2 separate regions of the Homo sapiens genome follow, and region 2 is linked to region 1. Evidence: promoter capture Hi-C in 16 types of primary human blood cells and fetal thymus (Javierre and others, 2016). All regions are on one chromosome and are shown on one strand. The core of a region is centred on a gene start or on the middle of the fragment in contact, and the rest is flanking DNA. Distances in the headings are between cores, read along the strand shown.

Region 1 (6,800 bases), core at 3,202-5,701:
CTTACTTCTTCTGCTGCAAACTTTAAGACTGCTGTGAAAGGTGTACTTTCAGGAACACTGAGTCTGCAAGAAGAATTTTAAAACAGTTTCTTTTAAAGTCACCATTTTCTAAAAAAGCCCCTTTGTTCCTTATTTCCACTACTGTAGCCAATCTGGACAAAGCTGTCTTTTCAGTTTCAAAGTTAGTGATTTTGATTGCATACTACATTCTTTAACTCAAAATAATAATAATAATAATAACAACCCAAACAGCAAATAGCCTTAGAGCTGGGATGGTGCCCGAGCTCCACTTGAGAATTAACCTTTAAGGTGTAGATTTATATATTTCTAACACTTTCATACATGTAAGTCTAGCATATGAACTGCTGTTTGTTTCTAGAGATGGATTTCAAAAAGGTGAAGCTCTCCTTGGTCTTCAGTCCACTTTACCTCCCATCTAAATATCTATGCACTTGACCCAGTAATGTTATCATTTTCATTATAAGTAGAAGGCTACTTGGGAAGCATCACTGGATCATAAAGCTTTTGATGAACCTTCTGTGTACTCTTAATAATCATGTTCAAAATTAGTAGACCAAATTAATGAAAATGCATGAAGTTCATTATGTCAAAATGCCAATAATGAAGTGATTTTTCTACCATCATTTAAAGTGGGCTAAGTAAAATGTGAAATAACATTTTGGAGAGGGATGAGTGATTTTGTTAACTGACTCATATAACGGCAAGTATTTTAAAGATCATGAATAAATATATTTTTTTTTTCTTAATGACTTAGTCCCAGGGTCAATCTGTATGAACTTTCCAATAAAAAAAATCAAAACAGAAATTTACTTTATACCTTAAGAAAACACTTTAAGACACAGTAAGAGGTTTTTAAAACTTCTTTTAAAAAATAAGATCCCTAAGGTAACATAAATTACAATGAGTGAAAACAGAAAACAATCTTTCAAAGCAGAGGAGACTTACAAGCTAACATTTCTCACTGAAACTTCTCTATTTGTCCACCATATTATTGTATTGTTCTTAAGTGTCTCAATACCAGCTACCATTATTCTCATGTATATGCCCAGGCTCCTCACTCAGTCTACAGATCTCTGACTATAAGAATCATTATAACAGGAACAGCATATGGTACCAGTTTTCAGTAATAGAAATGTGAATAGATTTCTTGGCTGCCCTCATTCCACAACTCCAAAATACTATTAAAGGATGAAAATGGGTATCATTTTTACCCTTTCTTTACTAATGTTTTTGGGGGGTGGAAAAAAATAAAAACATATAAAGGATAGCCATTTGTTTAAAAACTAACGAACTGGCAATGTCATAGTTTACAAACTAGGCAACAGTATTTTACAAAGTATTTTTGCAGTGTATATGTAGTTAAGAATCTGAGATTCATTTTCCTAAAACTCTGCATCAATTGGAGAACTTCTAAACCCTTGGAGTTCAATTCACTTTTAAATCGGAGACTTGGAAATGTCCTTACAATATACCTAGATGTCATACTGATGCTCATTAAAATAAGTTTCTATCTGTATATTAAGTTGGTGAGTGTCCACAGACAAGCCAATAAAAACAAATCAAAAATGAAAACATCTTTTAATGCAAGTTCTAACTGGCAGAAAATTAGAAAAAATGAGAGTTACAGTGACTCCACAGATCTTATCTAGATTTAAAGTTGTATTTGCCAGTCATTTCATAAAATCGGTACTTAAATTATCCCAGTGTTTTGAATAAATTTACATTAATGAGAATTTTTGAAGTAAATTACTGGCATCATTTGTTTTTTAAATAAATATATAAACAAAATAATAACATAAATTGGTAAGAATTATTATAAAGACTAAGTCCACAGGTAACTCAAGAAGGGCGAGATTAACTCTGTGGACAATTAGAAAAATCTTTGGCCAGAAGGGGTGGCTCACGCCTATAATCCCAGAACTTTGGGAGGCCGAGGTGGGCAGATCACGAGGTCAGGAGATGGAAACCATCCTGGCTAACACAGTGACACCCCGTCTCTACTAAAAATACAAAAAATTAGCTGGGCAAGGTGGCACACACCTGTGGTCCCAGCTATTTGGGAGGCTGAGGAAGGAGAAGAACTGGGAAGGCGGGCGTTGCAGTGAGCCAAGATCGTGCCACTGCACTCCAACCTGGGCAACAGAGCGAGACTTTGTTTCACAAAAAAAAAAAAAAAAAGAAAGAAAGAAAAAAAAACAAACTTCATAGAGGTGAGATTTTTATTACTATAAAATATGTTGTGATCATGAGACTGCATTCTAAGCACAGAAAAGAACATGTGTAAAGGAAGCAAAGATTAAAAGGGCAAGCTTGTCAAGTACCCAAGTACTAGTTACCATGTACTTTGAAAAGAAAATATAGCACAGATACCCTTGTACACACATTTACACGTTATGTGAATTTTCCACACACACATCCTTATACACATACACACACAACTACACACGCACACATACATACTAAACAACAGTTGTACCTACTAAATTCATTCAGTCACCACATATTAACTGAACTGGTACAATGTTCCAGGCTCTTAATGTTATTGTCCTACTCTATCATTTTCTTCCTTCCTTCTCACGCTCTCTTTCGAGTACATTTGCATATTGATGAGAATAATCCAGTAGAAAGGGAAAAACCAATCATGAGGAGAGAGGGGGCACTGGACTCCATCTACTTTAACCTTGACAAGACTGAAATAGATGGGAACTATAGCTCAAGTGGTTTTTCATAGGAGTGAAGTCATTTTTTCCATTCTAACAGGATGGGAAATTAACGGATTTATCCATGTAGTGGTAGGTTTACATTGGTGTAAAGATGATAGAATTTCCCTCTGATGGCTTGATAGCAAGGGAGACAGCAGCTGTGGAAAGTTTGAAATTTTTAAACAATCTTTTCTGAGAATAAGGAGGAAAATGAGCAAACTTGAAGAATGTATTAAGTACTAGGTACTATTAATTGTAGTCATGAATTTAATGTAAACCCTCCAGTCTGTTATTTTCTCCAGGGGCAGTCAGCTATGTACAGATAATACAAACAGCTGGTTTCAGAGTTGGTGTTTCACTAACCAAAATATGCTGAGAGGAGAGACAGGGCCACCAGAGTTGAGGGTGTTTGCATGAGAATGATTTAAAGGTGGACCAATGGACTCTTAACTATATAAGGAGTAAGGTAAGGAATAGAAGTGGGGATAGCTACAGATAAAAAATCACTGTGATTAATGGATTAAATGAAACGTTGTAGATGAGAAATTATAGTAAATCATGTAGGAGAGAATGTATTTATCCATAAGAGTGCCTGTAAACGACATCTCAGAGATGGAGCAATTATTGGAATCTTAAGGTTCTAGGCTGCAACCATGAACACCTGAGATAAAGTGTAACAGGGATATTTTGGAGATGAAAAGATCAAGGGAGGAAAAGGCTGAGAGGTTGTACGGATCATGGATTGGTAAATCATTGAAATTTATCAGTCAGCTAGGTAGGCCAAGGTACTAATTAATTATGCAAAAAATTCTATTGTAATCCTGTTCTTTGCTACATTTCATGCTACTTCCAACTGCAATAACCTCAAGAGTGTTTACTTAAAATCTATCACTCAACTGCGAAGGATAAGTAAAGGCCCCACATGGATAAACTATCCCCTATCTGCATTTCCCATTCCTACCAAATACTCTATTAAATCCCAGCATAGGAAGGGTGTGATCTGAGTCTCATTACTTTGTGATGCCCGACTGCTGAGTTACTCATACACAACGAAACTCAGAAGCCGCGGAATAACAAATGTTCAAGTAATTTCAAAGTCTTGACTATCAAGATGGAATGTCTTCCTTAACTTCCTCAACCAGCTGGCCAAAGCGGTGAAACGCTTTTCTAATATCCAGCAGATGGGGACTGTTTAAGAATCCCAACAAATTACCAGAACCTGGTCCACCTGTCCTCCCGCGCCACCTGCCCACCAAATGAATTCCGAGGGGAGGTCACTAATCAGAAACACACCCACACCCTCGTGACGGGGCCAAGCTGCCAAGCTGACACTTAGCGAGCAAGTACGGACCTCTCCTCGCAGGCTCCGGTGGGAAAGGCTCCTGGAAGGGCGCGAGCCAGGAAAGTAGATGAAGTGAAGAGATGAAGACTGCGTGGGGTAGTTGTTGGAAAAGCTCGGATCATCCCCAACCCAGCCCCGTCTTGTCCGGCCCCAAAAGGCCCATCTCGGCCGAGCTACTCACACTTTGTACGGCAGCCGTGGGTCCGACGTCAGCGTGATCTTAAAGGAAACCTTCGACCTGAGGAAAAGAGCGGGAGAGAGTCAGGGTCGGGCAGCTGGACCAGGAATTATGGCAGTCGGTAAGCAAACACTTACATGGTGGTGCCGGAATGAATCCAGAACACACGACAACTCCGCGGGGGTAGCACGACTTCCTCTAGTGTGCTGGGGACCGCCCCGCTCCACTCACGTCCACGTCTCCCTCTGCAATCTGGGGACCTCCGAAGTTGTTGCTATCCAACGCACTGCCTGAAAATTGGCCCTAAGAGCTCATGCTAGATGGCGCTTTTAAATTACAAATATCTTGTGCTTTTGCGTTTATATATCTAAGAAAAAAGTATGGATTATATTTATAAGATATCTTTCTAACTTTGGTAATTTGCTACCATATTTTTAGTCAGGCAGAATAAGCGTGGGCATAGAGCGTAGGACCCTAGGTTCCAGTTGGCAGGTTGGGGCGGAAGTAAGGGTATGGGGTAGTCGGATGAAGAGCGAGATGGACTTGGGGCGAAGCTCGGGGCGAGGCCGGGGGCGGGGCTGGGGCGGACGCGCTCTAAAGTTTCTAAGGCAACCTGAGCGCGGAAAAGCTTAATTGGTGCTCCAGAAGCAGGAATTGTAACACTGCTTTATCATTAGTTTTCTTCCGTCTTTCCAGCAAACCAATCCTGTTATATCCTTTACATTTCTCATAGTTTCTCCTTCACGCTTTACTTTCCGATACTGATTTATAACTATTGAATTTCGGTTAAGTAAGAGAGCTATCAAGTACGAATTATCTATGCCAAGACTCCCGCTGGGGTGGGTGAGAAAAAATGAGGTTTCTACGTTTGGGGAACGTGGCGTCTAGTTGGGAAGACACATCTATGAACAGGAGATTTCAGTAATTTGTTATATGGTCTAATTAAACCAGTGCGCTGAGTTGCTAATCACTGACCACATTTATTCAATTTAACAACCAACTTTGAACCCTTTCTATTTGCCCGGCGCTAAGCTAAACTCTGGGGAATCCAAGATGAGTAAGGCAGGTAGGCGTCAACTCTCTAGGATCTAACATCCTGTGTAGTGATGACGGAAGAAAATTGTCCTCTAAACTTTATTACAGATCTAAACCTCTGTGTTTGGAAAATATGCGTCTGTCTCACAATGACTGAAATGCCCTTTTAAAACATTAGCATGAATAGACAAAGGAGGAAGCAGGTAGGCATTAAAATAATGGGGCAATCTAGTTGATCTTTAGAATATGCATCAGATTCTTAAGGAGAGATACTTAAGAGAGGAACCAGGAAGGAACTGTAGTAGGGATAATGGAGATCAAATTCATCTTTACAATAATTTTGCAGCCAACTGATCTTCTATGGTGACATTTCCCAGTGGAGAGAGTTCTGGTTCTGAGTAGGCAAGTAAGACTCCAACATTCTCATGACAGCCATCCTCACTTTTTAAAATAATGGTCTTACCATATATGTAGATGAAGCCAAATATTGATTGACAGATACAGGGATCAACAGTTACAGCCTTAATAGCTGAAACTATTCAATTAGTGGGTGTGACTAAAACTTGTGAGAATAGTAATAAGGATAAAACTGTGATTGTGTCTACCTATTGTCAGCTAGCCAAATAATAATGAAAGAGATGAGTGTACATATTTACAGTCTATAAGACTACATATAATATATTTTGAAACAAAATTTGCATCCTGCTATTTATAGTTTGGTTTCTGCTCATGAATCAAAACGTGGCAAAATCCTAAAGAGAAAAATGGATATTAATCAGAGAGCTTTTATTGTATGTATAAAAAGTGGTGAAAACAGAATTCAGTCCCACAGTGTGACTTTAGTACTCAGATTCTGCTGCTTCAGAAAATACATTTGTATAATATATCAAAATAACATCTCTTGAGATATTAAAAAGCAGCTGTTTCTAAATATTTAGAATTCTTTTTCACCTCAGTCCCCAACTCTGCTTCTCATGTTTGTCTCCTCAGAGTCACAGCATGATTTCTGCAGCCTCCTGAGTTTTATTTTGCTTAGGACAAGAAAGAAATTATAAATGGATTTATTTATAATCAATTTTTTTAACTTTGTGAAGGGATTTGCAATTGGAAAATTTTATAGCAAAACAAGGACCTTCTCTTTTACTGAAAAGTTAAAATGTTGAAGTACGTTTAATGGCTGTAATCAGAAGCAAACTCTGGAGCAAATTTTTGGAGATAATTGGCAATGGAACATTTTAAGACAACAAATAGCATAAATGGCCTAATGTGTTTTGGAAAAGATCCAATTAGTATCATGTAGAGGCAGAAATGACTGTAGAAGTGCACAGTGTGACCATGTTAGACCTCATTAAATGTCAATGAAGCATACCAATATTCTATTTGCAAATGCATATAAATTTCCCATTATTAGAAGAAAGCCAGAAGGAAATTAAATTTACATAAGGACTAAAAAGATTTGCTTCCATAGTCATAGAAATTCTTCTGACTAGTTATTTTTATAGCCAACTTTATTTTTTATATT
Region 2 (6,530 bases), core at 2,734-5,233, 2.0 Mb after region 1:
CCGAGGTCTGGAAGGCGCAGGTGGGGCGCGGGGGAGTTCACCCCTGCGCGGTCCCTTGGGTGGGCGGGGTGGGCGCCCCAGGCCCCGCGGACTCGGCTGGGAGGCTGAGCGGGCGACGGTCACGGGACAAGGGTGGAGGGGGTGGGGACCTCATCCGAGTCTCAGAGATGGAATTTTCGAGGAAGGGAGCGATTTCGAGAGAGAATAGTTTGAGAAGTTGTTCTCAGTCCCTTCTCTCGCGGGAGTGTGGTATTTAGGGAAGCTTCGGCCTCTTAACCCATGGACTGTTAGGATGGAGGGAATCCTTCCCGCTCGATTCCTATCGCGGAGTCCTTTCGGAGCATCGCTATTGATCATTCTCGCCGCCCCAACCCCGTTGTTTACTTTGGCTTCGCAGATCTCTGTGGTCTTTTGCCCTCCCGCAGCGCCCATGGCCCCGTCAAGGTTGGGCAGCCTTTCTCTGCAAGAAGGCCCACGAACAACTGCGGTTATATTGGGATGGATTGCGCGTGATTTTACTCTTTACAATACATTCTTTCATGCTTCCTAGGGATTGAGCTGCGCGGCGGATCCCTCCGACTTAATTCTGGGCCTGAGAAAAGTTTCTCTTGGAATGCGCAGTTTCGTGACGCAGCATTATTGCGTGACTCTAGGGCTGACCCAGTTTTTCACTTTCTAATTGTAAGGAAGTGCGCTAGTAGTCCACCGAGGATCCTCGAGGTTGGCCTTATTGTATCATAATTTAACGAATTTGCGTTCCAGGTTGTTACAGCCTTTGAAATAATGGCCTCATATTTAAGAATGTAGCAATTTTTCTTTGAAATTTCCGAAAGTGGGGAAAAAAGTAATAGAAGACTGCACCTATATGGAATTATTTTCTGATTCGCAGTTCTTTATAATCGTAGACTTAATTTGGTGGCTTTATTGGACCTGTTTGAAACAGGAAGCCTTTCTGTAATGTGGTTTCGGGTCGGCTTCACCTCTGGCACTCTCTGAAACGTCGTTGTCTATGGTTTCCCTAAGAAGCTAGAATGAGCGGGATGCTACGGAGGGAGGTGTATACAGGTGTTAGACAAAGCCCCCTCCGCTTTTTTGGTAAAGGGCCAAATAGGCATTAGATCAACTTGTGCTAGCTCTAAGGAGTTAAATGCGGTATTATTAAAGACTGCTTGTAATGTTGACTGTTAAGTGAGAGTGTTACTTCTTTCAGTGTTTATGGAATCGAACTAAATTGCTAGGTATTTTAATGCAGAATTTTACCTTTTCTCGGGTATTTTTTAAGACATACACAGACATACATGTAGTTATGTTGAAATAAATGTGTTTTATTAGAACGTTAAAAAATTAGAATTTAGGTGAACTACTGGTATCGGAACAGATTTTGGTTTGTTGTTGAAGACTGTACACTGGTGTAGGTACTGTTTAATACATCAGATTGTCATTTCAAAGACTTTGTCTTCTTAACTTTGAAAATTAAATAATGTGAAATAATGTGATAATGGTTTTTATCTTTTCAGGACACTTGATTGACACTTAATTGTGCTTAGGAATAGAATAGGCTTTTTTTTAAGTCACCATCCTCCAATCCTTATTTCTGTAAAATGTATTTTCTGAGACCGCTGAGGATATAGCAAATCCCAGTCACAAAATAAAAATGTGATATTTTAATATAAACCTTTTTCTTTCTGTGTTGAGATTCCCCAGAGATTAGACTGAAATTGACCATTAGACTTATATATAACCTCTAGATACCCAGGCTCTTCTCTCGTGTATCCTTTTTTTCTCTTTAAGATGGAGATGTAGCAAGGAAGGTTATTAAGCAATCCTGTGGAATTAGCCCTCCCACTCCACCCCTACACACAGGCACACTCTTCTTTCTCAGTAGCCATCTTGTTCCCTCCATTGACACATTATTAGGAAATCTTTCATCACACCGTATGTAAAATAAGCTTAGAAATAAACGTATACCCAAGGTAAATATTGCTTCTAGCTATATTCCTTCATTATGCCTCGCTTCTACTTTCAAATGCTACCTATTGAAGATTTAAGCCACATGACTTTCTACGACGGGACACTCTGGGTTTTCTTCACCCCTCCCTCACTCTGCTGACTTGTAAACATAGTAGGACTTTTAGATTTGGAATCAAACACATCTCATCTAATTTTCATTTTCATTTTTCTTTTCTTTCTTTCTTTTTTTTTTTTTTTTAAAGAGACAAGGTCTTGCTCTGTCACCCAGGCTGGTTGGAGTGCAGTGGTGCAGTCATAGCTCACTGCAACCTTGAACTTCTGGGCCCAAGCGATCCTCCGGCCTCAGCCTGTGCAGTAGCTGGGATTACAGGCGAGAGCTCATTTAATTTTCTTGACAGATAATCTTCTGATCCATGAACTGATTTGAATGTATCATTTACTAGCTCTCTTCTTGGGCAAGCTGCTCAATATTTGTAAAACATTTTTAAAATCAGATATCAACCTCCAAGAGTGAGGATTGGATAACCTTAGAAGGGTGCCAGACACATATAGAGAGCTTAACAAAAGATAGTAAATTTTGGTGCTTCTGAGGGCCAGAGACAGACCATGTCCATTATATCTTTGCTATATATTATAGTTGTGAGTGATTTTTAAAGCAGTACTTTTAATTTGCTTGTGAACCCCCAAATAATTTTTGTAAAACTGTCCCTCTTGCACACTTTTGGTTAACTTACAGCATTTTACATCATGCGTTAGTTGAAAAGAATGCAGTTTCCCACATGGTATTGATATTAACATTTTAATATTGGTACATCATTCTTTCACCTGTATTCAGTGGGGTATCATATCTTTGTAGTTTTATATCCATCACCATCAATTTTTAAAATACATTATATTTTACACACTTCCTTTTTTAAAAAATTTTACTTTTTTATCACCCCCACCCCACAGAATATTATCTTAAGGTAATGCATTTTTATGCTTGAAAGCTTTTTATTAATCTCTGTGATACATGGCTTTAATAACAATAGTTATATAAATTGAAGCTAAGTTTAAAAATTTCCTATAACTAATTCTGTAAGTTGTAATTTTTCTTTTGGGTTGAGTTATTATAAATAGTTGATTAGAATAGCTTAAAAACTTGATGGATTTTAATGAATAATAATTATTAAGAGTAGAAGTTTACTGGAAATCTGTGTCCTAATGGAATGGATAGTGGGAGTTGTGCCTAAATTAAAGGAGGGTCTTTGAGCCCTTCGACTTATTGTTTGTTGGTAGGGAGGCTTTTCCATCCTGGGGCAGTGTACCATAGTAAGAATAGGAGTGGGTGAGAAGTATGCCTTTATTTTGTAAAGTGGAAGATTGTGAAAGGATCTTGGGGAATAAAAATCAGCATGATAACTGGACAATGGGCATATTCTCAGGCAGATCAGTTTAGTGAGAAGTACTCATGGGAGTAAAGGATCTGGAAGCCTTTTTCTTAAAATTACACATGTCGTTGGTGTATGTCCCATGGAAGACTTCATTTGTCCTGGGGGGCACACATCCCCCAGTTTGAAGACCATTTAGAGTGGTAATTCTCAGTGGGGGACGATTTTGCTGCCCAAAGTACATTTGGCAATGTCTGGAGACGTTTTTGGTTGTCACAACCGGGATGAGGGGTGGTGCTGCTATGGGCATCCAGTGGACAGAGATCAGGGATGCTGCTAACAAAGCATTATCCAACCCAAAATGTCAACCATGCCAAGACTGAGAAACCCTGATTTAGAGGATTTGTTTTGGAATCAGACTATTTAATTCTGTAAACTAGTGCAGGGTCAGTAAACTTTTTTTGTTAAGTGCCAGATAGTAAATATTTTAGGCTTTTGGGGCCATGTATGATCTCTGTTGCACATTCTTCTTTGTTTTTATAACCTTTAAAAAATGTAAAAGTAATTCTTAATTCCAGGGTCTTTCAGAAAACAGGTGATCTAAGGCAATTAATGCTTGCAAACTTCAATTTTCTTCTCTGCAAAGTAGTACTAATAGTAATATTGCATCAAGAATTGTTTGTAAGGATTGAGATAAACACCTAGCATACTGTCCAGCATATGTTAAGTACTCTAAATGATGCGTGGGGATAGTGGTGTCCTATCGTATGTAGCACAAAAGTGGGTGCCAAGTCACAGTGTTGTTCAAGACCCTGTTCAAGTCATTTGGACAAATTTAATGATGCTGGTGAAGCTCCCAATCAACTCACAGATGCCTATTTAACCTCTGCTGTCTTTCTGCTGCCTTAGTCTGGGCCTCCTTGTATCCTGAGGAAGATAAAATACAAAATGCCTGTCTTGTGGTTTCTTTGGAAAGATGTGGCAATCTTATGACACAACAGGATAGTATTCCAGGAGAAGAGATTGTTAATATTGATAGGGGTTGTGGGGTAGAGCAAATACGTGGGTCTGTATATGGTCAATTGTATATGGTATTTTCTAAATTGGGTACTGAATATATTCTGTTGACTACCATGAAGTTGTTGCATAATAAGGCTGACTAGTGGCACTTCAGGTTAGAAAGTATAGTTATATTATTAATCGGAAGCTAGACCAATTTTAATGAATGCTTTCTGTGATGCTTCTGTGCTTTCATAGTGTAGATTGCTGCTAAAATAGTTTCATATCAGTGAAATTCTTCTATCGTAAGTTTTCATGAGATCACAGGAAAAGAATTGCCACATCTAATGACAGTAGCCACTAGGTACATGTGGATATTGAGCACTTGCAATGGGGTTAGTTGGAATTGAACTATCTTTTCAGTGTAAAACACATACTGAGTTTTGAAGACTTCATACCAAAAAAAAGAAAGCTAAAATATTTAACTGAAAGTTTTTATATTAACTGCATATTGAAATAATATTTTTGATATATTTGGATAAATAAGATACTATCATTGAAATTAACTTCACCTGTTTTTTACCTTTTTAATGTTATTAGAAAAGTATAAATTACATATGTGGCTTGCATTACAGTTCTGTTTGACATAGTTGCTCTAAAGCTTCCATTTACTTTTTTAATAGTAATTAAATTTTCTATCATACACATAGATTTAAGAAAAATCTTACCCCTTCCTCCCAAAGTCAGCTTGTATCATTTTTCTTACCCAATTCTTTTGGTCTTTTTTGTACTCTAAACAGTGCGAATATATTGGCACTTTTTCAGTTTTAGGCACTGTCCATTAACTTCTCAGTGAGAAAGATGAAGTTTTATCTCTTTCATCCTTTGTCGCATGCACATAAACTTTTTATCCATCCATCTTCCCATCTTTCAATATGGTTGTACCATAATTTTGTTTATATTGAGATTCATTGTGTATATTATGACACCAATCAAAACTGAAACATTTAGTACATTATGATTACTTTTTATTTCTTGCTCAACATCATTTTCCCTAGAGTTAATCCTTAGTTTTTAATTATTACTAATGGAACCCTGAATACTCTCACAGTTGTGTAGATCTTTTTTCAGAGCTTACAATCACATTAGGTATTCTATCAGTTTTACTTTCTTAAAAAATTCTTTTCTGTTGTCTCCTACTCCACCCTGGAGTGTTTGCCTAATTGTTATCTTGGAAACTCATCATCAGTCTTGGGATTCCTTTCATCAAACATGGTACCCAGCAAACAGAAGATGTAATAACTGAGCAATCACTTGGCTGGGTTTAGAAGCTATTTTTACTCAGAATTATGAATTAAATGTATAATTTCCTTCTTCTATTGTTGCCTTTAAGAAGTTCCTTAGCACTCTTACTTCTCTCTCTTTTTTTGTGTGTAAGTATTTTAAAGATGATCCTTTTGAGCTTAGTGTTCTAAAATGTCATGGTATGTTTCTTGGTGTGAAATCTTTTTTTCTTATTTATTTATTTATTTTTATTTTTTTGAAACAGAGTCTTGCTCTGTCGCCCAGGCTGGAGTGCAGTGGTGTGATCTCGGCTCACTGCAAGGTCCGCCTCCCGGGTTCAAGCAATTCTCCTGTCTCAGCCTCCTGAGTAGCTGGGACTACAGGCGCCTGCCACCACGCCTGGCTAATATTTTTGTATTTTTAGTAGAGACAGGGTTTCACCTTGTTAGCCAGGGTGGTCTCGATCTCCTGACCTTGTGATCTGCCCACCTCAGCCTCCCCTTTTTTTCTTATTTTTTGCCCATTGGTTTTTTTATTTACTTTTATTTGTTAGAGATGGGGTCTTGCTCTTTCAACCCAGGCTGGAGTACAGTGGTGTGATCATAGCTCACTGCAGCCTTGAATTCCTGCACTCAAGTGATTCTCCTGCCTCACTTCCTGAGTAGCTGGAACTACAGGCACGCGCCAGCATGTCTGGCTAATTTTTTGATGTTTTCTTTGTAGAGCTGGTCTCACTATGTTGCCCAGGCTGATCTCAAACTCCTGGACTCAAGCGATCCTCCTGTCTCAGTCTCCTAAAGTGCTGGGATTACAGGTGTCAGCCACTGTGCCCAACCTGTTGGTCTTTTTAAATTAGGAAATTCATGTTTTCCAATTCTAGGAAATTCTATGAATTATTTCTTTAAT

Evidence for each region. The method cuts DNA at HindIII sites, captures the fragments that hold promoters and counts their contacts. A CHiCAGO score of 5 or more calls a contact.
Region 2: a contact is called between a fragment that was not itself captured here and the fragment with the promoter of UFM1 in region 1, in 6 of 17 cell types (monocytes, naive CD8 T cells, total B cells and 3 more). The highest score is 9.7, in monocytes.

The regions. Positions count from the first base shown.
Region 1 is chr13:38,347,502-38,354,301 of GRCh38, reverse strand. It overlaps UFM1 (ubiquitin fold modifier 1), which reads right to left and starts at 4,451. Exons shown (of 6, transcript NM_016617.4): 1 at 4,381-4,451; 2 at 4,247-4,303; 3 at 6-63. The coding sequence starts at 4,382. RefSeq lists silencers at 3,900-4,114, 4,812-4,921 and an enhancer at 4,492-4,701. The HindIII fragment of the contact is 2,541 bases long and covers 2,333-4,873 here.
Region 2 is chr13:36,339,715-36,346,244 of GRCh38, reverse strand. SPART (spartin) reads left to right here. Exons shown (of 9, transcript NM_015087.5): 1 at 1-20. Among named protein-coding and RNA genes, the nearest start is that of SPART, 3.4 kb to the left of the region's middle. RefSeq lists a silencer at 1-2. The HindIII fragment of the contact is 2,041 bases long and covers 2,963-5,003 here.